Regions from separate parts of the Homo sapiens genome. Here all the other regions are linked to region 3. Evidence: promoter capture Hi-C in 16 types of primary human blood cells and fetal thymus (Javierre and others, 2016). All regions are on one chromosome and are shown on one strand. Each heading gives the region's core, a stretch centred on a gene start or on the middle of the fragment in contact. The rest is flanking DNA. Distances are from core to core; before and after follow the strand shown.

Region 1 (6,484 bases), core at 2,911-5,410, 1.0 Mb after region 3:
TGCCTTAACAGCTCTTTCGGAGTTGATTTTGAACGCATACAACGACGGAAAGAGCACCGCAGTGGGAATGTGAAGACTTAGGTTCTAATCTTTCCTCGGTCACTGATTTGATGACCTTGGGAAGTTCTTAACCAACAGATTCCACTTGCCCAAAAGGAAAGAATTTGAGTGAAGAGGAGGCCGTCTTGGAATTCATAAGGGAAAAGGCCTCAGGTTACCTCTGGCCTTCCCTCCCCACGTACTAAAGGAGAGTTTATAGCTGATGAACCACAGATGGGGCAGAGAGAAGGGCGGTGGAACTAACAGATATGGGGACACCACCAAAAATAAAACACAACGCAAAACAAAACAGCGCGGACCCCGGCCATCCCTTGCACCTCCCCTGTGAAACACGTCAACGTCAGTTACGCTCTCTCGTGACGGGAATGCAGAATCTGGGCTGCCGGGCACCATTTCGCGAACCCCAAATTCTCACACGCACCCCATAACGTTCCGCCGGCTCCCAGGCCCGGCTGGGGGAACTAAACTTTCATCCTCCATCTCCCGGTCCCGGACGGCCCCCTAGAACGCGGGCAAGGTATCTAGGCCGACGGCCCCTCATGGGGACCCAGGCCTTCTTACTCTTTTGGGGGTACATTCAAGGCTTAGAGGCCACCCCAGACACCATCTCCGGAAGAGTGACGTCGGAGGACGAGGGGGCAACGGAAAGGTCAAAAAGGTCGGGGAGTTTCGTTCGCGGAGCCGCACCCCTCGGCTGAGACCCGGGCCTGCTCGGGGGCGGAGAGGAGGCCGGGCCCCAGGCTGTTGAGTGGCCGCCCTTCCAGCCAATGGACACGTCGCCCCGCCACGCTGGGGCCCGCCCCTCCCGGCTCGCTGTACTCACTTTCCCCACTTCGGCGTTGCCCATGGAGATGACTTTGATGCGGAGAGACCTGCCGGGCTCCTTCCGCTTCGGCATGTTGGCCTCCATGGCCCTGGCTCTCTCGGGGCCACCCGCCTCGGTCTCTTCTTGTGCACCGCTGGCCCGTCCCTCAGGCCTCCTCGTCCAATGGCGGAGCCGCTGCTCTCGTCACCGCCTCGCCTCCGCTGCTCGCCATCCCCGCCGCTGCCTGGCAGCAGGCGCGGGCGGTTGGGAGCGTGGGGAGCCGGGGGAGGGAGACGGGAGTCTCGCGATGCTAGCGCGGGGCTGCTGACGTCATCTGCAGGCCCTGGAGACGCGACTGCAGTTACCGAGTTTCTAAGGCCTCGTCCCCTGACGGGAAGGCGGCGTTGGGGGGCGGCTGGGTTTACCCTTCGAGGTGAGCGCGTCCTTGTTTTCAGGGACGCCCGGACGGGAGGCGTTTGTTGCTTTCGCAGCCGAGTGGTGGAAATGTATTGGCTCTTCAGGGCGGGTCTGGTAGTGTCTCGTCCGTTTGGGAGTGTTTTTTTTTTTTTCTGGATTCTTTTTCGGTTCCATGGGCCGGGCTGCTGCTCCTCTTCCCCCTCCAATATTTTGTTCCCCTTGCTCGAGATCCCCGAGAGGCAGACCCCAAAGCCAGGAAAGTGGGGAGGTCGGAACCCTGGTTCTGGAAGAGGGCCTTGGGCAAGGCGTGAAGCGATTCTGAATCTGGTTCCTATTGTTTTTTATTTTAAATGGAGTTGTCTATTTGGAGTCAAGGCAAGAGTGTTTAGTCTTGGCCCTCCTATTACAGATCTCTGATGGATTTGTTGACTCCTCTGTGGGAGAAAGGCTTGGTCTACTGCAGGTGTTAACGCTAAGCCAGGCTGGAGCTGTGGACGTCAGTTTCCTCAGCTCCCCGCTGTTCGCTTCGAACGTGACCTCGACGTCTGCTCTCCCCTTCCCTTTAGCTGACAATGTGACAGTGCTTGAATAAAAGTCAGTCTGACAGGAACGGTAATTTTTTTTCAGTGAATATCTTCAGTTACAGAAGATAAATAGAACTTGACAATGATTATTTATAGTGCCCTGAAAAAAAATGGCTGCCAATTTCCCTGTATATTACAAAGACAAAAGTAGCATTGCTTCTTTTCTCACCTAACTTTAAACATCTTAAGGGAAGTGCATTACAGGAAGGCAATGAGCAAAGGCTCAACATTTCACAGTAAAGTCAGATTTTCCACATTTTAATTTTAAAATGTGTTTTTTAAACATTAAGTTTTTTTTAAGACAAGTTTATTCTGGATTGTTTTGATAATCAAATAATATAACTTAATTCACTGAAGCTTCTAAAATTATTTACAAATATGAAATATAAGTCCTGGTTAGAATTTGGATAGTTTTAAAGCTTAAAAGAATCCACATGCTAACTTCTCAGTATGATTTAATAAATCAAATTACTAAACATGTAATTTCTTCGACAGTTCACCTTTGGCCCTGTAATAGGGTAACTGGTATTGTGGAAGAATAATTATAAAATGTCAAATCTTCAGCTGTTATGATTGATTAAGTATGGTGCTGTTGAGACTAAGCAGTAAAACATGCCACAGATTTAAATTGATTACTATTTTTTTCATATTGATGGGGTTTTTTTTGTTTTTGTTTTTGTTTTTGAGACAGAGTTTCCCTCTTGTTGCCCAGGCTAGAGTGCAGTGGCACAATCTCTGCTCACTGCAACCCCTGTGTCCCGGGTTCAAGCAATTCACCTGCCTCAGCCACCCGAGTAGCTGGGATTACAGGCACCCACCGGTATACGCAGATAATTTTTGTATTTTTAGTAGAGACGGGGTTTCACCATATTGGCCAGGCTGGTCTCGAACTCCTGACCTCAGGTGACCCTCCTGCCTTTGCCTCCCAAAGTGTTGGGATTACAGGCATGAGCCACAGCGTCCGGCCCATATTGATGCTTTTGACACTTTATTGTATATAGCTACATTTTCTACTGTGTGTATTAAATTAGTTTGGAATCGAAAGAGCAAGAAAGTTGTTTTTTTTCCCCCACTCTTTGAATATAAAAAAATAAAAATCAGCACGAGTTAGCTGCTTTTTCCATAGTATGGACCTGGGAGGTATAGTGTGAGCATGGATTCTGGAGCCAGCCCGATACACTTAATCTTGGCATATGTTGTAGGCATGAGGTGGTGATAAGGATTGTAGGAGATAATGCACAGGAAGTACGTAGTAGTCTCCCAGCAAACAGCAGCCACATGCTCTCATTTGCTCATACTTTTTTATGTGTTAAGAAAAATCCTACATCTTTTTAATGTGTATTTTTAGAAAGTAAATTATGAAATATTTAGGACATACTTAAAGGTATAAAGTATAATGGAATGAATAGCCATGTATCCCCCACCCAATTTAAGAAATAAAATATCACCACTGGGCATGGTAGCCCACCCCATAATCCCAGCACCTTGGGAGGCCAAGGCCAGTGGATCATTTGAGCCCAGGAGTTTGAGATCAGCCTGGGCAACATGGCAGAACCCTGTCTCTACGAAAAAAAAAGCCGTTGTGGTAGCCCAAGCCTGTAGTCCCAGCCACGCGGGAGGCTGAGGTTGGAGAATCACCTGAGCCTGGGAGGTTGAGGCCACAGTGAGCTGTGGTCGTGCCACTGCACTCCAGCCTGGGCAACAAAGTTGGACCCTGTCTCTAAATAAATAAATGAAACAAGAAAACATCACTGATACTGTGCGTAGCCTTTCCCAATACATCCCTCTTCCCTCTCTACAAACAGTTGCAACAATCTGAATGCTGCTTTAATTTCCAGGCATTTAAAATTGTTTTACTATATATGAATATATACCTTAAAATGTAGTATTGCATTTCATCTTTCAAAACTGTTTTGAAATAATTTTACACAGAAAATTTCAAGAATGAGACCAAAAAATCTTGTCTACCCTTTATCCAAATTCATCAGTTGTTAACATTTTGTCCCATTTTTTCTATCACTTGTGCTATCTATATGTACATGTATACTCAAATGTTTCTGAGTAGTTTGAGGTTTATTTGCAGACATTTTAATAGATAGATATACATAGATAGATATAAACACAGGCCCAGCTGGGTGGCTCACACCTATAATCCCAGCACTTTGGGATGCCAAGACGGGTAGATCACTTGAGGTTAGGAGTTCGAGACCAGCCTTGCCAACATGGTGAAACCCCATCTGTACTAAAAATACAAAAATTAGCCAGATGTGGTGGCAGGCACCTGTAATCCCAGTGACTTGGGAGGCTGAGGCAGGAGAATTGCTCAAAAATATATATAAAGACATATATAATATATACACATATATATATAGTGTGTATATATACATATATGAATATATGTCATACTTACCTATATATGTATTTCTTTTTTTTTAGAGAAGGAGTCTCACTGTGTTGCCCAGGCTGGTTTTGAACTCCTGGGCTCAAGCAGTCCTCCTGCCTCAGCCTCCCAAAGTGCTGAGATTATAGGCATGAGCCAATGTGCCCAGCCAGCTTGTTTCTTTATCCATAAATAATGTGTGTTTCCTCAGAAGGACTTTCTTCTACATGGCAACAGTGATTTATCAAAATCAGAAAATGCAGCATTTATACAGCACTATTATAAAATCCTGTGGTTTGAATCAAACTGTACACTGAGGTACCTCACATCCCCACAGTAAATCCACGGGGGGATATCTGTGGAATAGCTTGCATTCTAAATTTTCAAGGCAAACAAAATGAAATCTAAATGACTGTACAAAACTACTAGCTTGAAGTTGTTTACAGTTTCAACAATAGATGGCGCCAAATTCCTTGGCTATGTCATGTCTTGGGGCATCTAGGCTTTCCAGTTGGTTGTGATGAAAAGTGAGTACACTGGGCCGGGCGCAGTGGCTCACGCCTGTAATCCCAGCACTCTGGGAGGCCGAGGCGGGCGGATCACGAGGTCAGGAGATCGAGACCATTCTGGCTAACACAGTGAAACCTCGTCACTACTAAAAAATACAAAAAATTAGCTGGATGTGGTGGTAGGCGCCTGTAATCCCAGCTACTCGGGAGGCTGAGGCAGGAGGATACCTTGAACCTGGAAGGCGGAGGTTGCAGTGAGCCGAGATAGCACCACTGCACTCCAGCCTGGGTGACAGAGCGAGACTCCCTCTCAAAACAAAACAAAACAAAACAAAACCCTGAGATGCTGAAAGCACTGTGAACAAAGAAAATTTGGGAAACTTTTATCTAATTCACAGTTAACACTCAAATTTCACCATTTGTCCCAATAATATTCTTTATAGCTGTGTTTGACTTGGTCAACTGGTCTAGGATCTAATCTAGGATCATTTAGTTACATATCTTTAGTCTTTAAGCTGGAATGGTTCCTCAGCTTTTCTTTTTCTTTCAAAATGACGGTTATTTTTAGAATATTCCTCAATTTGTGTTTGTTTGTGTATTCTTGAAATTAGAGTCAGTTATGTTATATTTGGCTGGAATACCACAGAAAAGATGTTATGGGCCAGGTGCGGTGGCTCATACCTGTAATCCCAGCACTTTGGGAGGCCAAGGTGAGCAGATTACCTGAGGTCAGGAGTTCGAGAGCAGCCTGGCCGACATGGTGAAGCCGTGTCTCTACCAAAAGTACAAAAAAATTAGCTGAGCATGGTTGCACGTGTCTGTAGTCCCAGCTACTCGGGAGGCTGAGGCACAAGAATTGCTTGAACCTGGGAGGCAGAGGTTACGGTGAGCCGAGATCATGCCACTGCACTCTAGCCTGGGTGACAGAGCAAGACTCCATCTAAACAAACAAAGATACTATGTCCTTTTTGGGCAGCATATCAGTTGGGATGCCAATTTTTTCCATTTATTAATGATGCTTACTTTAGTTCATTGGTTAAGGTGGGGTTCATGAAGCTGATCTACAGTAAAGTGACTTTTCCCTTTGTAATAAGTAGTTTTTAAAGGGATACTTGGAGATTATATGGCTATCCTTTCTTCACTGAACTTTCACCCACAAATTTTTAGAATCCAGTGATTACTTATGGCTGAAGAGATTATTACTATGATGGACGCAAAATGCTGATTTTCCAACTCCATCATTCCATTTATATTTATTACTTGGTATTCTACCATAAGGAAAAGCTTTCCTTTCTCATTCATTCATTTGTATCAGTATGGCCTTGTATATGCTTATTTTACTCCATGAATATTATTATTTATTTTGATACTCAGGTTGGCTCGTATGTCCTTTTGATGTCTTCACCTTTGTTGTTGTTGTTGTTTCTGTGTTTGTTTAGCACTTTCTTACTTTTTTTTTTTTAAATTTTTTTTAGAGACAGTGTCTCGCTCTGCTGCCCAGGCTGGAGTGCAGTGGCTCAATCTCGGCTCACTGCAACCTCCGCATCCCAGGTTCTAGCAATTCTCCTGCTTCAGCCTCCTGAGTAGCTGGGATTACAGGCGCATGCCGCCAGGCTTGGCTAATTTTTTGTATTTTAGTAGAGATGGGGTTTCCCAGGCTGGTCTCGAACTCCTGAGCTCAGGCAATCCACCCGCCTCAGCCTCCCAAAGTGCTAGGATTACAGGCTTG
Region 2 (6,230 bases), core at 2,532-5,031, 1.3 Mb after region 3:
GCAACATAGCAAGACCCTGTCACCAAAAATTTAAAAAGCAAGGGGGACCCTCTCTTCTTCTCCACAATTCCCCTGGGCAATCAATCCTTCCTATTCCTGGTTTCCAGGCCACAATTCTAGTTTTGTGATGTCTGCTGACGAAGAAATCACTGCTCTGGGTTTAAAGAGCCCATCTCCCCCCAGCACATGCTCAAACACCATAGGAAGCTCCCCAAGAGCCTGTCTGTTCCCATGCTCAGACGCCATGCTGGAGTTCTTATGGATCACACCCAGTGTGTATTGTTACCAGATTCGACCCCTTCTATGTGCACCCTTCAGATCCATAAATACATGTATTCATTCAGTTATTTACTGAGCAGGCACTATAGACCAGGCGTGCTCTCTGCCATCCCACCAACAAATTAATAAGCCAAACCCCAGTTATTCTCCCATTGCACAGCCTCCATCCTTTCACCGTATCACACTCGTCTTTCAGGCTACGATCCACGCGCCCATTCCTTCTCACAACCCGCTCCAGGATCCCTACAAAGGAGAATGAAATCCTTGATACTTAGCTCTGAGAACCATTAGCCTTTTACTGAATCTAGGAAACACGGCCCTCTGACTTCAAGGCTTTGCACCCATTTCCACCATACCAGATTTAGAGGGGAGAAAACCCCATTTTCTACATGCCTTTCAAAAGAGCTCCCCCATGGGCCTAGAGCTGCGAATGCAAACCCATCCTCAAGGGTAAAGAGGATGAGCAAGCAACCTGGAGTATGAAGAAGAGCTCTAATCTGAAGTTGCAGCCTCTACATTCCTGTCGGAGCCTCACAACCAGCAGCTGACTTTGGAGCAGTCCTTTCTAGGAGTTGCTCCAACATAAAAAGGCACCTGAACGGAAGGATTTCTGGAAAGCTTTTCTGACCTGTTTAAAAATCTGGTGTATATATGGACCAATGATTCCCAGGACTCTCCCAAAGCCTGTCAATGGACCCCCCAGATCCAAGGGTCCCAGGTTAAGAACCTTTGTTTGAAGCTCAGTGGTCCAATGTATTGTCTTACAGATTCATTTAATTTCACTGAGTCTTCAAGTCTTTGCCTCCAAGCCACAGACCAATCTGTTTCTTATGGCGATTCCGAAAAACACTGAAGATGTTAAGTCCTAGTTCTTCCTCTGACTCAACAAATTCTAAAACAGGATAATGCATCCTTTGCCCCCAACCCCCAAACAGCTGGGAAAATGAGCTCATGGATGGCGGAATGAGCTCACGGATCGGACTGCGGGGGTGGAAGAATGTGGAGTAATTGCTCATCGCTCCCTAGCCCCACTCTCACCTGGCCAGAACTCTGCCCTCCCCTTCCTACTATCAATTAGCCATCGCCTCCTCCCCTACGAGAAGGTGCACTGAAGTGTGGACCCCGCTATGGGGGAGGGTGCCTCCCTTGCTGGGATCCTCAGCTGCGTCAGCTACCCTCGCAGAGGAGCCCACACCACGCCGCTGCTCCTCGCCCACCACGCCTTCTCAAGCTTCAGGCATGGGTGGCTGACCTAGGGTGATGCCTCGGATGATCCAAAGACCCCGTTTCCAGGCGTGGCGAGGCCCCTGAGCCAGTACGAGGTGTGCAGGTAGCAGTGGGCGGGAAGGGGAAAGGACCCGCTATCAGTTCCTGGCAGCGGCAGCAGCAGGTGGGCTGGGCTCCTCCTCTGGCTCCCCAGGTCTAGGAGTCGTGCCTGACACCACCCTCAGCACTCCCCCACGGCCCCTTTGTCTCTCAGCCCCTTCACAGCGAGTTCCTGAACATTCTTCTTCCCCCACAACTTCCCCCAGCTTGTCAGATGCCGCGCTGCGAGCTGTTCAGCATCCCCAGCCCACTTGGTGCAGAACACGCACCCGGCCCGGTAAGGGCTGGCGGAGGAGGAAGGGGCCTCCATCAGGACTGGGGCAGTGGGGTGGGGGAAGGAAGAAGCGGGGGGGGGGGTGGGTGAGCAGCAGGGGGCCTGACGAAAGGGGAAGGGGCAGCCGGAGCTGGGTGGGGGAGGGGCCTCACTAGACTAGGCCTGTCTGGGGCGTAGGGAAAGCACCCCTTTCCCTCTGCACTCCTGCCTTCCTCCCCAGGCAAACAATAAGAGAAACAGGGGTGAACTCGAGGCTCTCGCATTTGGGCTGCGGGCTGCTCACCCCCAGGGGGGCGGAGAAACCAGGCGGCATTCAAGAGACACCACACTATTCCCCACTCCCTGCTGGCTCACGGAAGCCCCTGGGCCTGGAGTCCGTCCAGACTGGGAAAGCCACCGGGAACTCCGGTGACTACTGCCTCCGGTCCAGTCCCATCTCCTCAGGCAGTTGTCCCGCCTCCACCTCCCCCTGCGACTGCAGCGCTTCCCATTCCAAAGGTCAGAGGTCTGAGCGCCACCGCCCCCAAGCCCATGCGGCCTTGGGCTACCCTGGTGTCACAGGCCGGCCCCCTGTCAGGGTCGCACCGTGCTCTCCCGCCCCCCACCACTTCTTTCTGGCGGCCTGCCTGGAGGCTTCCAGGAACTCGCAGGAGAGGAAGCTGTCCCTCTTAAGAGGCCGCAAGCTGGCAGGGCCCTGAGGACCGCGTGGTCCCCCAGCCAGAAACGCAGGTCACCAGGGAAGTGCCAGGCACCCATCTGCCAGCTCAGCTGAAGCTGCCTCCAACCCAACTCCTGGGCCACCAGCTCCGCGTGCCCCAGCCTGCAGTTACCACTGCCCGGGCTCCCGGCCGGCTGCTCTTCCTGTCCCCCGAGGGCGCCAGGTGCCACTGGAGCCCTCGAGGAGTGGGGCCTTGGGGCTCGTGGGCAGGAAGGCGGCGGGCCAGCACTAAGTCAGCATCTCCAGAACTCGGGCCAGGCCGGGACGCCGCGGCTGCTGCGGGCCGGGGAGGCATACTTCACTCTTTTCAAACCCGGAGGGCTGCGGAGATCCTCCCACCGGCCCTGCCGCCTCCCCGCCCCCGGTCTCCCCGGGGCTCCGTCCAGGAACCTACCCATAAGGCCAGGTGCAGCCCCTCTGCAGTCGCGCTCAGGTGTGAGCCGCGGCCCTGAAGCTCTGGAAGTAGCTGCCCGTCTTGGGGGAGGGGAAGGGGGCGATGGGGCTGGGGGCGGAGGGGGCCACTGGGAGGGGAGGGGGGCGGCGGGGGGGAGGGAGGGAACATTTTCTTTGTCTAGGACTCCAGGTCACGTGGGCCCCGCTGGAGGGCCTGGTTGGCTGCGAGCGGCCCGGGGAGGGGGCCGGCGCTCCGACGCTGGCGCTGGGCCAGCCCCTCTTCTCCGGTCCGAGGGGCGCGGGGCCGGGGGGCGAGGCCGTTCCCCGCCCGTTCCCAGGGCCCGCCCAGGCCGGGCTGCAGGGAGCGCCCCGCCTTCGGGAAGACCGCCTGGCCCCTCCCCCAGCTCTGGAAGAGATTAGCGCGGGGCCGGGGGGCCGGGAGGGGAGGGAAGGGGCTGCTCCCGAGCCGCCTGCCCGGAGGGAGCCGGGGGTCCGGGCGAAAGCAAGCCGGAGCTTTCGGACGGCCTGGGAGAGCCGGGAGAAAGTTGTGAAAAGTGAGTTTCTCTGAAGCACAACCAAAAAAAAAAAAAGAAAAAGCTTACAGATAGGAGGCCCAGGAAGCTGTAGGAAAACTCAGCACACAGACGGAGAGTGACAGCAGGCGCGCGCAGGCATTGGGAGCGCTCCAGATCGGGGATTGTTTGGGGGGTCTCCCGCCTCCACACTACAGGTGAATAGAGAAGCGGGGGGGCCTCAAAAAGCGCGGCGTGAGGAGGTCAGGCTTCGAGTCCCAGGGCCCCTGCGTCACTCTGGGCCTTCCCTGGATTTCTCATTTTCCTGTTTGCAAGGTTGGTCGCGGCGAGGGCGCTCCTTCAGAAAGTTCAGCAATTCCTTCATTCCCAGGCTCAAACATCTGCAGATCGAGAAGACCTGACTCCTCTCCTGGGGCCTCCAGGTGCGGCCTCCAGGTGCAGCCTCCGCCATTTCAAGCTTCCTCCTCCTGAACAAAGGCACCTACCCCCAAGGCAGACGCAGTCCCCACCCACAGCCCTCCATTACGTTGGCTGTAGGATCAGATAAAGAAATAGACCCTGTTGGCTCTGCCCTCGAGGGGTTGAAGATTCCACTAGACTTGGAGAAATATGAAAGGATCACTGTAAAACAAACATATGTAAAGGTAACTATGCCACAAATACCAAGTAGAAAAAAATGGGCGGCATGGATGACAAAAGAGGTCAGAGGTCAGTTCCAGGTGAGCCGACTGGGCCTGGAGGCTGGATCGGACTTGGAATGAGGTGAGATGGGTAGGATGAGCAAGAGCTGCCGGGCTGGGGAGGGAGGAGACCCTCGCCCACCTCCACCCTCCCAGTACACGACAGGGCAAGGTAATGGCAAGCCTTCAGGTGCGTCCTTGGGTATATTCTGTAGCAGGGAAGAATAACCGCAGGTTTTCTGACAAGATGAATGAGTATTTTGGAAAAATCAGCCTAGTTGCCGTTGGCAAGATGAATTAGAAGGAAGAACTGAGGAAATGGAGGAAAATGCACCCCACAGCAGAGGGCTATTTGGGCAGCGGCACTTGTTAGAAGATCTGGACTTGGCCGAGCGCGGTGGCTCACGCCTATAATCCCAGCACTTTGGAAGGCTGAGGCAGGCGGATCATGAGGTCAGGAGTTTGAGACCGGCCTGACTAACATGGTGAAACCTTGTCTCTACTAAAAATACAAAAATTAGCCAGGCGTGGTGGCGTGCGCCAGTAATCCCAGCTACTTGGGAGGCTGAGGCAAGAGAATCGCTTCAACTTAGGAGGCGGATGTTGCAGTGAGCCGAGATCATGCCACTGCACTCCAGCCTGGGCAACAGAGCGAGACTCCGTCTCAAAAAAAAAAAAAAAAAAGATCTGGACTTCAGTTCTGTTTCCACCACCATGACCTTAAACAAGTCACTTAACCCCCAAGAAATCTGTTGTCTCATCTGCAAAACGAGTGATGACATCAGCCCTCTTTGGCCATGGAACGCCACCATCTCCTAATGACAATGAGACAATTCTCTAGGTGCCTGGCTCCCAGCCACAGTCACCTGGGACATACAGGTGCTGGTATAATGAAGTCACGAGATGTGCAGTGAGGGAGCCCCCCCTCCCCCTGAGGGCCATCAGAGCAAGCAAACCCTGAAGAGCAAGGACCCCAAACCAGAGAGCCTTCTACCTAGAAGACTTGGGTACAGACTCCCCCCCAACCCTGAGACCCAGAATCCATACAGCTAGGAAAAGAAGCTATTCGAAAAACAAGCAAACAAACAAAAACACAGGCCCTCTTCTGTTCCAACCCATCTTTCAACCCAACTAAGGTATTTGCCTGGTACACATTTCCAGGGGCTCCCCAAGCAGAAGTGAGAAGCCCAGAATTTGTCCCTCTTGCCTGCTCCCAACCTTTAGGGAATGCAGCATGACTTGCTTCGCTGCTTCTCTCACTGATACCTCTTCTGCATCCATGCCGGTCAACGGGCCTGAGAACTTACTTCAGGCCTCCTCTCAAAAGAAGTTTCTGGTTCTGGCTTGGTGGCCTTTTGCAGACACTGTCTCATGTACGATACCCGCTCTTCCATTATAATGCGGCTAAACACCTTAGACTCCACATTCTGTGGTCTTGGGACATAAGACTGCAATGATGCCGTGCGTGCAGCAAGGACTCAAGGTGTCAGAACTGGCCAGAACTGTTCACTTTCTCTTGGCCACATATTAGGTAGCTGTTCCCTCCGGCCGTCAAACTTCCTTATTCTCATCCTTTAACATTAAAGTCAAATCCTACCTCTTCCACACAACTTCCCAACAAGCAAAAGGAAGCCTAGGCTCAAAGGTGTCCCCTTAACAACCCAGAGCATCTTTCTTCCCTCTCCTGTAACTATGCAGACAGGAAACACTGCCTTTTCTAGACTGAGTCGCTTAAACAGAGATGTGTCTTCTTTGTGGTCAATGCACAGTCAGACCCCAAAGCAGAAGAGACCCCAAGATCTAGAGCAGGGGTGATTTTAGTAAAAGGAAAAATCCCCTTACTAAAATGGGGCAATCTTCAAGGATCCTCAGGTCACACATGCTCTTGAGCTTCCAAAGTAAACCTCCCTGGTAGTTTACCAGATAGGTCTTTTGTTTGAGTTAAAGATAGCCAAACTCAAATAGCAGCACCATGTAAAATAAGCCATGTTCTTGGATTTGTTATAAAAGTATGTTGAAAGGAGGAA
Region 3 (6,855 bases), core at 4,066-6,565:
TCCATGTAAATCTGATACAGTATAAGGAAAAACTTGCTCTGTTCTGATGAACTTATATTTTCCCCTGCTCATCTGAGAGTTACACACATTATGAGATTTCCCTCTCAGACTTCTTTTACCTCTTTAACCCTCAATTTCGACCACTCTGCTTTGTTATGTTGGCAAACGCATGAGTGTTAGAAAAGGAAAAGCACAAGGTGATAAAAGTATACTAAAGAAGGACCTAGGGATTTTTTTAATTAAAATAAAAATAAAGTAATACAGCATTTTACTTCTAAAGTTACTCAAAATATTTATTTTGATCTCACAAGATGGGGACTCAGAGTCAATGACTATCTCAAAAAGCCTAAAAAGCTAGTGAAAAAGCCAGAAATACCAGCAAACAGACCTAACAATTAGGAGAAGTAGAAAAAAAGAGTTGAAATAATTTTCAAAGATTGCTGTACAGTTTTGTGAATACAGTATTAGATTGTTTACTAGGAGTGACACCTAGGTGGAGCAAATAAACGCTAATGACTGAGGGCCAGATTAACTGATCTAAAAGGGGTCAAGCTTTATGAAAGCTTGGAGCAAAACAAAAGCCACAGTATACAGGAGTAATCACATCTAACTGCATAGCACTAAAAAACAACCTGATATTTTAAAAGTGTGGGCATTGTGGGTAATGATAAGAGAGGAAAAAAAAATAAGAAAATTTAAAAGTGAGGGCACAAAGGCAATCTACAGATTAAGAGAAAAATCTGCAAACCATATATCTGATAAGCAGTTAATTTCCAAAATACATAGGGTACTCCTACAACTCCAAAGGAAGAAAACATTTTTTAATGGGCAAAGCAGGATTTTAAGGCTGCAGTGAACCACTCCAGCCTGGGCATCAGAGTAAGACTCTGTCTCAAAAAAAAAAAAAAAGGGTCCTAACTAAACAGACACCTGTCAGGTATATAAAAAGGTGCTCAACATTACTAATCATCAGGGAAATGCAAATCAAAACCACAATGAGATATCACCTCACACCTGTCAAAATGGCTCTTGTCAAAAAGACAAGAGACAACAAATATTGGGGAGATGTAGAAAAAAGGGAATCCTGGTACATGTCAGTAGAAATGCAAAATGGTGCAGCCACTATGGAAAACAGTATGAACGTTCCTCAAAAAATTAAAAATAGAACTACCATATGATCCAGCAATCCCAACTTCTGGGTATTTATCCAAAGGAATTGAAATTAGGATTTCGACGGACATCTGCACTTCCATGTTCGCAGTAGCATTATTAATAGCTAAGACATGGAAACAATCTAAATGTCCAAAAAGAGATGAATGTAGAAAACGTGGTGTACATGTGTGCATGCCCAGTGGAATACTATTAAGCCTAAGAAGGAAATCCTGCCATTTACAACAACACAGATGCACCTAGAGGATGTTACACTAAATAATATGTCAGTCCCAGAAAGACAAATACTGAATGATCTCACTTATCTGCTAGTTTAGTGGAATCTAAACTAGCAAATTCACAGAAGCAGAGAGTAGAAGGGTGATTGCCAGGGTCTTGTGGGGGGACAATCAAGTTTCACTTATGCCAGATAAGTTCTGGAGATCTATATAGCATAGTGCCTACATCTAAGAATACTGTATTGCATACTTAAAATTTTCTAAGAGGGTAGATTTTATATCAAGTGTTCTTACCACAAAAATAATACTAATAATACATTCATAATAAAAGGGACAGGGAAACTTTAGGAATGACGGACATGTCTATGGTGTTGATGCGGTGGTGTTTTCACAAATATATACTTATCTCCAAACTCACAGAGTTATATACACTAAGTACCACCTTTTACATGTCAAAAAAAAAAAAGGCTTTTCATACCGAAAAAAAGAAAAAGAAAATAATTCCAATAATCGGCAGAATGCATATTTTCCCCCATCCTATGCATATACTACTTGGGAAAAAGACAAAACTTTAAGAAAAGCTCATAGCGCTATGACTTTTTAAAGCAAATAAAATGTCTCTGGACACAGTGAATGAAATAATCTAAAAACAGGGAAAAGGGGGAAAAATAGGCATCAAGTGTAGTTAGTTAAGAACATGGCACAGGCTGGGCGCGGTGGCTCACGCCTGTAATCCCAGCACTTTGGGAGGCCGAGGCGGGCTGATGACGAGGTCAGGAGATCGACACCATCCTGGCTAACACCGTGAAACCCCGTCTCTAATAAAAATACAAAAAAATTAGCCGGGCGTGGTGGCGGGCGCCTGTAGTCCCAGCTACTCGGGAGGCTGAGGCAGGAGAATGGCGTGAACCCCGGGGGGCGGAGCCTGCAGTGAGCCGAGATCGCGCCACTGCACTCCAGCCTGGGCTACAGCGAGACTCCGTCTCAAAAAAAAACAAACAAACAAACATGGCACAAAAGCAGAAAAAGGAGAAACTCCTCAATTACAAACAGGAATATTATGTTACAAACAGGAATACATTTCTTTCTACAAAAATAAGGGTCTGCGAAAGCAACAACACGGGCAACCCCATTTTGCACCAAATGAGACTTTACAGACACTGGCAAATGCTTATTACAGACCCCACAGACATAGAGGGTGTCTTTAAGTACTCCAGAAAGGGTGAACCAGGAGTGCTAAATTCCTACAAAACTGGAGAAGAGCTAACCAGAAATATACAACCTGCTTCATAAATATATAGTCCATAAACTTAATAAATTCAGAATTATAATTTATCCTCTTCTAAAGGTCCAATCACTATGTAAGAGTAGTTACGTCTCTAAAAAAACCTTTCAGAGAAAGCAATTAGATGACTACATCATCTCCTAGAGCCGAACATAAATCTTCTTAAGACTGAAAAACAAATATTTCAAAGTAAATCTTTAGTACCCTGTTATTTATGGTGCTTTAAAACATTTTAAAAGGATCTTTGAAACAAAGTTTCATTAGTACCCTTCTACAAAGAGCTCTCATATCTTTCATTCTTTTAGCAATTTAAAAGCTACCAAATGTTCATTTCCTCATTAGATTATTGATTCCTAGCCTTTTAACATCTCTATAACAGCTGCTTGACAAATTACCTCACCTTATTCCTCGGGGGGTGAGGACAGCATGATATCCATGAATTCAAAAATGGGACCACAAACTGATGAGTGAAGATGAGCTAATTGCTTCAGATGAGTTAGACACTGCTCTAACAGACTAGGCATTCACATAGCATGATACGATTAAATGCTTACACCCTAAATATTTTCTTTGTCCTTAAATGTACAGAAAAGATCTTTTCTTAAATTGAGTTTTATTTTAAAATATGTGATAGCCTCAGTAGGTCAAGAAGCTTGAACATGTTTGGAATAGTTTCCACCGAAAGCCTCGTCTTCAAAGTACTTATTCTCAACAGTTTGCACAACTTTCAGATTTAACCTTATTTCAACCTAAGAGAGCTGTAAGCCCCCAAAATAGTCTATTAAATAGGACGTTATAATGCCCAAAATTTTATCAAAGAAAAGCCAAAACGATTTTCAAAGATATAATAAAAATATTTCAGAGTAGTATGGTAAAATATTCCTGTCTCTGCCTAGATCCATTCTGTTAGTGTCAAAACAGTGTAAGACACAAAGAAAAGCACACACAAACCGCGATCTTGTAGACCCCTAGAACATAAAATATTGCTTTCCCCCAATAAGAACCACAAAATGGTGTGGAATTAAAGGAGCATTTTAAATGAACAGCTTTTTCCAGCCAAATTACTTAGCAAGTCAACCTCTTTTAGACAGAAGCAATACACTCTTCTCTGAATTCAGAAACAATCTCATAGTAAAACAAACGTGTCAATTCCTTTAAAACAATAAATATCTGTGCTTAGCTTTATAATGTAGGTAATAAAATTTCAAGATCTTTCAATCAGTTTTTTAATTCAATCACCAGCGTCTTTAAATGTCATTTTTGCAACTGCATGACTATGGTGTTCATTCACCTTTTGTAATATAGTCCCATAACAAAAATGTAGACACCCAAGAAACCACACAGTTTTGGCATGATGGTGCTGACTATCCGAAACATTCCACTTGTTTCTTTCGACGTGCTCCTTCTGTGACCTGAAAGCTCTGGTTCCTACTAGCACCTTGGTGAGCTAGCTGGCTGGTTCCCCAGCTATAATATCATGTTTGATCTCTCCTGCCTGGAGAGGCGATAGCGTTGATTTTGTTTTTAAAGTTGGTGTCAGAGCAGCTACAAACTTTTTTCAGCATCCCTGCCTGGCTGCCAACTGGAGCTCTCTGTTCACTTCCTCACCAACTTGAACCACCCCCAAACTGAGAGTAAGCTGGAGTTAGACAGCGGCAGGAACTGACACACTTTCAAGAAGGGTTTGACACCGCAGAAAACTTTCACTTCTCCAACCCTTCCACCCAGGGGCTCTGGCCCTTCGCTCTTGCTTCCCCGCTAGAATTCCCCTCTGGGGCAGGACAAGGACACGGACAGCAGATCGTTCGAATGACGCCGAAAGGGACCCCCAAAGCCCTCTCCCCTGGACTCAAGGGCTGTTCTTCACACAAAAGAGCCGGGCCAGCTTGAAAAGCAAAGGGGCCAGCGTCGCGGCCCTTCTCTGGGTGCCACCCTCCACCGCGCCCGCAGACCCTGTCTCCAGCCGCCCGAGCGGTCTCCACTGTAGGCTTCCTACCCCCAACCCGGCCAGACAAAGCCCCGGCAGCAGGGCCGGCACTTCCGAGCCTCCGGACTCGGGACGCCGCGCTCTTACCCTGGCCTCATCCAGAGTGACGCCGGCGCCACCGCTTCCCCCGGCTTTGGCGGCGGGGCAGCTGGCGGCGCGGGTCTTGGAGGAGCGGGTCCGAGAGGAGATGAAATGGCTGCTGCCTCCGGTCGCCCCAGGCTCTGCTCCGGCCCCAGGCCCAGGCCCGGGACCAGGAGACTTGGACCCGAGAAGGCGGAGAGAGCTCTTCCGGGTGTTCACCATGGTCCAGCCAGGGGGACGGAGTCCACGCCGCGCCCGGGAGAGCCGAGCAAGGCCGGCCCGCCGGCCGGTCAGTCAGGGCCAGCGGAGCCGAGCCGGGCAATGAGAGACGAGCCGGCCCGGAGCGTGCGGAGCGCAGACGAGCACAAGAGAGAGCCGGGCAGAGGAAGGGAAGTCGGCGTGAGCAGGCGGCGTGCGGGAAGCGGGGGCGGTGCTGCAGACCGGCAGCACAGACACTCCGCCGGCTTCGCCCTCCTCAGCGGGAGCCGAGCGGAGCCGCCATTTCTACCCCTTTCTCTCCCGTTCTCGCTCTCGAGCTCCGTGCGTCAAGGCTCCAGCGCCGCAGGGCCAACGAGACCGCTTCCGGCCGCAGCCACGGCGGGGCGCTGCGAAGCCGGCCAGCCCTTCCCGGCTGCTCGCTCCTCTCCCTGCCGCCTCCAGCTGCCCCGCCCCCGGCGCGGCGTCAGCGCTCGGCGGCCGGGGAGCGACGCTCTAGGCTGTCAGCTCGGTGGTTTCCAGCTCTCCCCGACCGCAGGGCTGGGGCGACCAGAAAAGCCAGACTAATCAGGACGAGTTCGGGCGTGGAATTGGGCCTGAAGCCCTCATGCCCAGCCAGGCCTGAATGCCCCAGACCCCACCGTCACCCCCGTGGCCTGGATGGAGCAGGGGACGGCCGGCGAAGGCGCGGGGTGGAAGGGGAGCGGCGACGAAGGCGCGAGGAGCTGACTGGGAATCCCCAAGCTACCCGAGGCAAGACACTGAACTTGAGTCGCACTTTTCATGCCTGTAGAAATGAGAATGACAGCTGTGATAAAAAAAAAATTCATCTGGGCGGTATCTGGAACTTGGTAAGCTTAAGAAGAGAAGGGGGGGGGGAAACACCATGCTAGAACTCTGCGTTTTTAAACAAAGCGAGGCAGGGTCGTTTTCTATCCCCTTAGCCAGATCTAAGGCGGAGCCAAAGAATGAGTACCCTGTAAGAGCCGCCTCTATCGCCGCCCCCTGCCCCCGGCCCGCTGAAGAATTAAGAATACAAAAAGCTGAACCCACAGATAAAGCATTTGCAATTTAACTTCCAAAGAAAAAAAAATTAAGCCACACAATTCATATGAAAAGCTCTGCTGTAGGCCGGGTGCGGTGGCTCAAGCCTGTAATCCCAGTACTTTGGGAGGCCGGGGTGGGTGGATCACCTGAGGTCAAGAGTTCTAGATCAGCCTTACCAACATGGTGAAACCCTGTCTCCACTAAAAATACAAAAAATCGATGGGTGTTGTGGTGGGCACCTGTAATCCCAGCTGCTCGGGAAGCTGAGGCATGAGAACCACTTGAACCCAGAAGATGGAGGTTGCAGTGAGCCGAAATCACGCCACTGCACTCCAGCCTGGATGACAGAGCCAGACCCTGTCTCAGAAAAAAAAAAAAGAAGAAAGAGAGAGAGAAAGGAAGAAAGAAAGGAAAGAAAGAAAGAAAAAGAAAGAAAGAAAAGCTCTGCTGTAAAGTAGGAATTAGGTTCATTTCAAAAATTCACAGTACAGGCCGGGCTTACGCCTGTAATCCCAGCACTTTGGGAGGCCAAGGCGGGCGGATCACTTGAGGTCAGGAGTTCGAGACCAACCTGGCCAACATGGTGAAACCCCCTCTCTACTAAAAATACAAAAAATTAGCCAGGTGTCGTGGTGCATGCCTGTAATCCCAGCTACTTGAGAGGCTGAGGCAGGAGAATCGCTTGAACCCGGGAGGCAGAGATTGCAGTAAGCCAAGATCGTGCCACTGCACTCCAGCCTGGGTGACAGAATGAGACTCCATCTCAAAAAAAAAAAAATAAAATTCACAGTACATTAGACATAGCCTACTGTTTATTGGGCAGGAGTTTATTAAACTGTTTATTAAACTAA
Region 4 (6,665 bases), core at 1,823-4,322, 2.0 Mb after region 3:
CAAAGTAGTCTTTCCATCTTTTAAATACTATTTTTCACATAGCTAGCTAGGGCATGAAATGAGCAAATATACTAACATAGGAAAAGCTAAGTAGATGCAGACTAATTTTTCCTATTTGTCGCAATCTCCCAATGACTATTTTATCAAAGGGATCATAATTCAAAAAACACTCCTAAGATTCTAGAAACTTGTGTAATATTAGTGCTTTGAGAGGCCAACGGCAGGAGGACTGCTTCAGCCCAGGAGTTCAAGACTAGCCTAGCCTGGGCAACATAGAAAGACCCTGTCTCTACAAAATATTTTTAATTAAAAAAACAATTTTAAAGACCCTAGGAACTTAAAATTAATTAGCATAAATTAGGGTCCAGGTCTGCTTACCTATAATTAAAATTTATCATGCTTCTTTTATTAACAGAAAGAGGTCTTGAGGTATACTGAGAGTAAAACAGCCCTCTGTGGGGATGCAACCTCTACACCTTCAAAAAAAAGTATAGGAGTCTTATCTTTTAGAGGGAAACTACTAGCACAGGAAGATATACAAAGACATATTGTAAGTGAAAACACCCAGTAAGTAAAATGTGCTATTATTTCTTAACTTTTTTACATTTCCAACTAAGAGAGATACAAATTGAAAACTCATCAACCTCCTAATGCATAAAGTTTACAAAACAAATGCACAAAGTTTAGAAACAAATGCACAAGACTGAATAAACAGTATGACCTAGATTTGGGGAAATAAAGAGACTAGACGGTAATATACCAAATGTTAGCAGATACAGCCGAGCGGTGAAATAAATGTGATTTTTTTTAAATGTTCTTCTTTATACTTTTTTATAATTTTCCAAATTTCCCCACAGTGAACATTACTTTTATATTTAAAAAACTCATTAAAAAATAAACCATATGGCATCTAATAAGGGTTCACTAAGAAGGGCTACGTTGTCGAAGTATTACCGGCATTAATCACCATTAAAGGGGTGAACACCTCTCACTTTCCACTATTAAAATGCTGCCGTTTAATGCCCTATTACTTTTCTGCTGCACCCTCAACGATGTATGAACTTCACTATCTCCTGCCATTTCATTTCTGCATACAACATGCTTTTAATTTTTTCTTCTTAAAATATGGTAAAAGTTCTCACTAATCCTCAATATTCCACTTTTTAAAATCTACCTCTAAATTTCGTCATAACACAATTAGGGGGAAAATTGTTTTGCCCACTAATTACAACTTCATTAGGGCACCATCCCTTTGGCTAGGGTAACGTGAAGGCCGGGTAAACTACACGTCCCACCATGCATTGCTGCCTTGTTCAGAGTAGGTCTCTACGGAAACAGGAAAAAAAAAAATTCTACAAGTCCCACCTGTTACTTCGTTTCTAAACACCTCCTGCACTTTCGGCTCCAACACCAAACAAAAACAAAAGCCTCGTGATCTCTCGTCTGCTCCGGGAGCCAGACAAACAGGGGGCCCGGGGTCACAGGCACGTCCGCTGTAACGGGTAAATTCTATCCAGCTCCAGCGCTCCCCTCTCCTTTCCGGGGCTGGATGCACGCACAAGCCTTCTCCTATCTGCATCCAATGGGGGCTCTCCAGCCGCACAAGGGAGAAGAACCGGTTACCGTGCAAGCACCACAGACTTCCCCGTGCCGGGGCGAGGGCTACCACAGAGCGGAGGTGATATCGGCTCGACCCCAAAAGACAGCCTCAAAACACTGAGAGGACTCGCCGCAGACGCCGAGGGACGCCACGGCCCCGCGGCTATCACGTTCCGCCGGGCGCCTCCATTCCCACAGGGATCGCAACCCCGACACTAACCGCCGCCCTCTCCGCGCGGTTTTGTGCCCCTTCAGCCGGGTCCCTGGGCCAGTGACCTCCCTTTCCCTGCGACTGGCGGGCGACAAGGGAACAAAATCCTCCCGGCCTTCCCCTTCGCTCCCTCCCCCTTACCGTCTTGGCGGCCTCCGCCCAGGTCCTGCCCTTCTTCCTACGTCCCTTTTCCCTCATGTCGGGTCTTGAACTGACTGGGAGGCTCCCGTGTCCGGGCTCCGGCCGCCCTCCCTGCCTGCTCTGCCCTGCGCTGCTTTTCCCGCGGTGCCGGGAAAGGTGGGAGAAAAGGGAAGTCAGACCGGGGGGGCACCCAAGCAGAGGAAGCGGCGGGGGTGGTGCGCGGGGGGGTCTATGGGGCGGCCGGTCCTCTTGCTGCCGTTGCCACTGCTACCGCCGCTGCCATATTGGGTTCTTACTGTACAGGCTGCCGCTACGGTCATGTGACCGCTCCCGCGCGGCCGTCACTACTGTACGCAGCCGGCCGCGCGAACGAGCGCGGGCGCGCCCCCGCCTCCCAAGCCCGGCCGCTGAGCTATCGAGCCGGCGGTCTGCGGTACCTCGCCACGCCCCCGCCCTTCCGGTCTCCGCCTCTCCGCAGGAGCATGCGCGCCAAGGAGGCCCCGGCAGTAGCTGTAGTCTGACGCCTGGCGCTCACACCTACAGCGAATATCTGCCTGCGGAAGCGGAACCTGTGCCATCCGGGAAAGCTTACTGAGCGGATCCCGCCTCTTGCGAGGCGCTGCACAGGCTGTGTAGACCTGGGGAGCTGAACTCTTCCCTCAGTGGGTGGCTCTGCCAACTATCACTTTAGATCAGCCCTGCGTTTGTGTTTTCTCATTTATTTGCATTTTTACAGAGGTTATCTTTTTGAAGATAGGCAACAATTCTCGTCTGCCTATTAACCCCATTCGATAGGCGAAGCAACTGAGATTGAGTGACTTGCCAAGCTCATAAGTCTGGGATGTAGAGAAACCAAAAATCAAATTGCCAGCTCAGAGCCCTTTCCATCTCCCCAGAATGCCTCAAACTTAGGTGACTTTGTTTTTAAGGCCACCAGTAACTGCATCCATGCTTTTACATGTGAAGCTACTCATCAATGACAGAAATGGTGTCTTCTTTATTTCGGTGAGCTCAGTCCCTAGCATAGTGCCTGTACATATCAGGCGCCCAGTAAATATTTGCTGAATGATTCACCTATTTCTGTGGTCAGAGACCATTATTTGTAGTATCCGTAACAGCTTTCTGAAAGATCCAGAATGTGGCATCTTCTCTTACATCATCTACACCTTGATACCTTGCAAAGTAAGAAGAATGTAGTAACAACTGCTGATCTCCCAAATCCACCTGCTTCCAGAAGCTGCTTCCAAACAATCCAGTAAACTTACTATAGTGTGAAATAGGACTGAGGATTGGATTGCCTCTTGGGAGGAAAGACAGGTGAGAGCAATACTTAAAGTTTATGGATGCGTTTCAGAAATTCATGGACTCCCTAAAATTATGAACTATATTTTGTGTGTTATATGTGAATTTTTTAAGAGGATTCATAACTTTTCCTCCATTTTTCAAAAAGGATCTGTTGTGCAAAAAAAAAAGAGAAAAAGATATTAAAGGGAGTTTGAGAGGCCATCTAGAAGTATCTAGATACTTCCTTATATTTCCGTTCAGTCATGGATCAAACAGCCTATTTCAGCAATTGATATGGATATATTTTCCCAAATGTCTTTGGTAATTCATAGCCTTATGCATTACACAGGTAGTATGTACCACCTCCCTCCAAAGCTTATGTCTGTAGTCTAAGAAGGCCTTCTCGCCAGGTGCGGTGGCTCACGCCTGTAATCCCAGCATTTTGGGAGGCTGAGGTGGTCAGATCACTTGAGGCCAAGAGTTCAAGACAAGCCTGGCCAACATGGAGAAACCCCATCTCTACTAAAAATACAAAAATTAGCTGGGCCTGGTGGCATGCGCCTGTAATCCCAGCTACTTGGGAGGCTGAGGCAGGAGAATCGCTTGAACCTGGGAGGCAGAGGTTGCAGTGAGCCCAGAGATCGCGCCATTACACTCCAGCCTGGGCAACAGAGCAAGACTCTGTCTCAAAAAAGAAAGAGAGACAGAGAGAAAGAAAGAGAAAGAGAGAAGAGAAAAAAAGGTCTTCTCCATCCCTGGCTGTTGAGCTGAGTACAGCTTATCATCCAGTCCTGTTGTTTGGTCCTGGAGCCCCAACTGGTTTTCAGACCTTACTAGGGTCCTTACTTTGCATTTCTGGAGCTCTATCCCCAGGTTTGAATTTCAAGGGTAGGGATTGTGATGTTGTGGTTCCTACTTCTTAATCTTCCACAGATACAGATAGTTTATTATTATTATAAAAGTATAATTCCCCAAAAAGTATTTTGTCCCCATGTCTATTGATTGAATTTGTTATGTGTATTTGCATCTCTCTCATCATCCCCACCCTCCTTCTGGATTTCCTTAGATAGTCTGTTTCTTTTCTCACCCTACTCAAGCCCATCCTACAGGGAATGCCAAATCTATCTTCTTAAAACTCCACCCACTACCCTACTAAGATATCCTCCCTAAGATATCCTCTTGATTGAGTCACAGTTTCTTAGCTTTACAGATACAGTTTCTATAATCAACTTAGTCATCCTTTGATGTATCTCTGGTTACTTCCATCAGCATTTGCCACTCCCCTGAAGACCCCACCTCTACTTTCGCCTCTTCATTTAACTAATGACATTGCTTCATATATCATGTAAAAATTATTGGCCCCCCAGTTGCAGTCTCACCTTGTCTTCAACCCCTAAATTTACCCATAAGTCCGCGCATTCTAACTGCCTCCTCCTCCTTAGCATAGCCTAATCCCTCCTCTAATATACCGTATACAGGACACTATCCCTTCTCATCTGCCTTGGAATGTTACTCCACTTTTTTCATTATTTTCTAGTTCTGATACCCCTCCCCCTCCTTCTACAAGCATATTCAAGACACTTCCAGCTTAAGGAAGTCTCTTTACCCTACCACCCTACCATATCAAATTATTTTTCCTCTCTTTCTTGCCCATAAATATCTTGAATGTGTAACCTACACTCACCATCTCTACTTTCACAACTTCCACCCACTCCTCTGCCCTACTAAGTGTAACAATGCTTTACATCTACAAATCAAGGTCTGACTCTTTTGTGGTAAAGTGAATGACCTGCTTTGACAAACTTTGGCTTAGTGTACTGCAGAAAGTGAAATCAAGGATTTTTAGACTACAGATATTCAGCCCCAACCCCTTCAAATGCTTTATCTTGGAATCCACATGAGATTTTTATTTTCACAATAAAATTAACTTTTTTTTCATCTTTACCAAACTGCTCATTGTAAAAATTCTACAGATATTCGTTTTGTCTGTGGAAGCAGAGACTGAGCCTTGACTCCTTCTGCAAGTTATATATTGGAGTGCTCTCAGAAGAAACCTGTAACGGTGTGAGGGAAGCATCATAGAGAAGGGAAGAAGCTGGCCAGGCGCAGTGTCTCATGCCTGTAATCTCAGCACTTTGGGAGGCCAAGGTGGGCAGATCACTTGAAGTCAGGAGTTCGAGACCAGCCTGGCCAACATGGTGAAACACGGTCTCTACCAAAAAATACAAAAATTAGCCGGGCGTGGTGGCTCAAGGCAGTAGTCCCAGATACTTAGGAGGCTGAGGTGGGAGAATCACTGGAACCTGGGAGGTGGAGGTTGTGGTGAGCCGAGATCACGCCACCCCACTCTAGCCTGGGCAATAGAGTGAAACCCTGATTCAAAAAAAAAAAAAAAAGAGAGAGAAGGGAAGAAGCTAAGGAAAACCTAGCCTCAGCCTCACAACTTGGTTGAGCATGAATGGCCCCTCGTTAAGTATGTCTCCTCTGTAGAACCAAACTTTTCACTCAGATAAGATATCATCAGGTCTAGACTTGGCAAAGTTGGGGACAGGAAGCGCTAGCAAGCCCATTTGGCCCTCACACAGAAGCTGTTTTATCTTCAACAGTTTTATTATGAATGTGATATTTTTATCTCCATCTGCTTGTCTCCTGTAGATATCTTTCCATTTTTTCTGAAACTTGGGCAAGTTGACACCCTCAAACTCTAACATATAGCATAATTTTAAATAGTTACATAGCATTCCATTGTTTGGATTATGTACAATAATTTTATCTAGTCTCCTATAGTTAACATTTCAGTGCTATTATAAATAATCCTTGTATACAAGGATTGCTACTCAGTTGTGGAAAGAGATCTAAGGAATATTAATTAAAGTGAAAAAGGCAATGTATAGAATCACATGTATAATAGGGTTCCTTCTGATGAAAAAAATGGGGGAGTAAGATAGCCTTTTTTTTTTTCTTTTTTTGGCTACAAGTATCCAAGCCCCCTTCCCATATTTGGAAATTTCCCACCCACTATAGAAATTGAAAATACCTACCCTCCGTTTTGGGTAGGGCATAGGAACATGCCCTAGGCTCCACCAATCATTTATTTCTGCCCTAGACATTGAATCGGACACTAGTGATATTCAGGATCAGTGATGTCAGTGATACGAGTTGCAGAGTCTTCAAAAGGCCAGCTCTGCAGTGGTATTTTGGCCACTATTACCGTTAGTGGTAATTTCCAGGCTAGGATCACTAGATATCCTACAGATTCTGTAAGCGATCTTGTTTTTCTTGTTTGTTTTGAGGTAGAGTTTCGCTCCCTCTGCCTCCCGGGTCCAAGTGATTCTCCTGCCTCAGCCTCCTGAGTAGCTGGGATTACAGGCATCCACCACCACGCCTGGCTAGTTGTTTTGTATTTTTAGTAAAGATGGAGTTTCACCAT

What was found. Contacts are between HindIII fragments. The CHiCAGO score rates a contact against its expected background, and 5 or more counts as called.
Region 1: a fragment that was not itself captured here is called in contact with the fragment with the promoter of ATAD2B in region 3 in 4 of 17 cell types (non-activated CD4 T cells, fetal thymus, monocytes and 1 more); the score reaches 6.6 in non-activated CD4 T cells.
Region 2: a fragment that was not itself captured here is called in contact with the fragment with the promoter of ATAD2B in region 3 in 1 of 17 cell types (fetal thymus); the score reaches 5.4 in fetal thymus.
Region 4: a fragment that was not itself captured here is called in contact with the fragment with the promoter of ATAD2B in region 3 in 3 of 17 cell types (non-activated CD4 T cells, naive B cells and total B cells); the score reaches 6.4 in non-activated CD4 T cells.

The regions. Positions count from the first base shown.
Region 1 is chr2:24,970,935-24,977,418 of GRCh38, forward strand. DNAJC27-AS1 (DNAJC27 antisense RNA 1) reads left to right here and starts at 1,178. Exons shown (of 3, transcript NR_034113.1): 1 at 1,178-1,298. DNAJC27 (DnaJ heat shock protein family (Hsp40) member C27) reads right to left here and starts at 1,021. Exons shown (of 7, transcript NM_016544.3): 1 at 884-1,021. The coding sequence starts at 970. RefSeq lists enhancers at 432-561, 515-1,033, 572-681, 942-1,051, 1,034-1,552 and 2 more and a silencer at 732-811. The HindIII fragment of the contact is 3,754 bases long and covers 2,284-6,037 here.
Region 2 is chr2:25,249,203-25,255,432 of GRCh38, forward strand. All of the region lies in intron 6 of DNMT3A (DNA methyltransferase 3 alpha), which reads right to left. Among named protein-coding and RNA genes, the nearest start is that of LINC01381, 48 kb to the left of the region's middle. RefSeq lists silencers at 2,057-2,126, 2,857-3,076, 3,247-3,396 and an enhancer at 4,203-4,737. The HindIII fragment of the contact is 393 bases long and covers 3,586-3,978 here.
Region 3 is chr2:23,921,808-23,928,662 of GRCh38, forward strand. ATAD2B (ATPase family AAA domain containing 2B) reads right to left here and starts at 5,316. Exons shown (of 28, transcript NM_017552.4): 1 at 4,748-5,316. The coding sequence starts at 4,963. It also overlaps a transcript of UBXN2A not described here. RefSeq lists enhancers at 3,983-4,232, 4,331-5,249, 4,443-4,492, 5,250-6,166, 5,753-5,842 and silencers at 4,973-5,052, 5,253-5,582. The HindIII fragment of the contact is 2,488 bases long and covers 3,324-5,811 here.
Region 4 is chr2:25,876,215-25,882,879 of GRCh38, forward strand. It overlaps ASXL2 (ASXL transcriptional regulator 2), which reads right to left and starts at 2,273. Exons shown (of 13, transcript NM_018263.6): 1 at 1,952-2,273. The coding sequence starts at 2,008. RefSeq lists an enhancer at 1,333-1,382 and a silencer at 2,293-2,452. The HindIII fragment of the contact is 1,072 bases long and covers 2,537-3,608 here.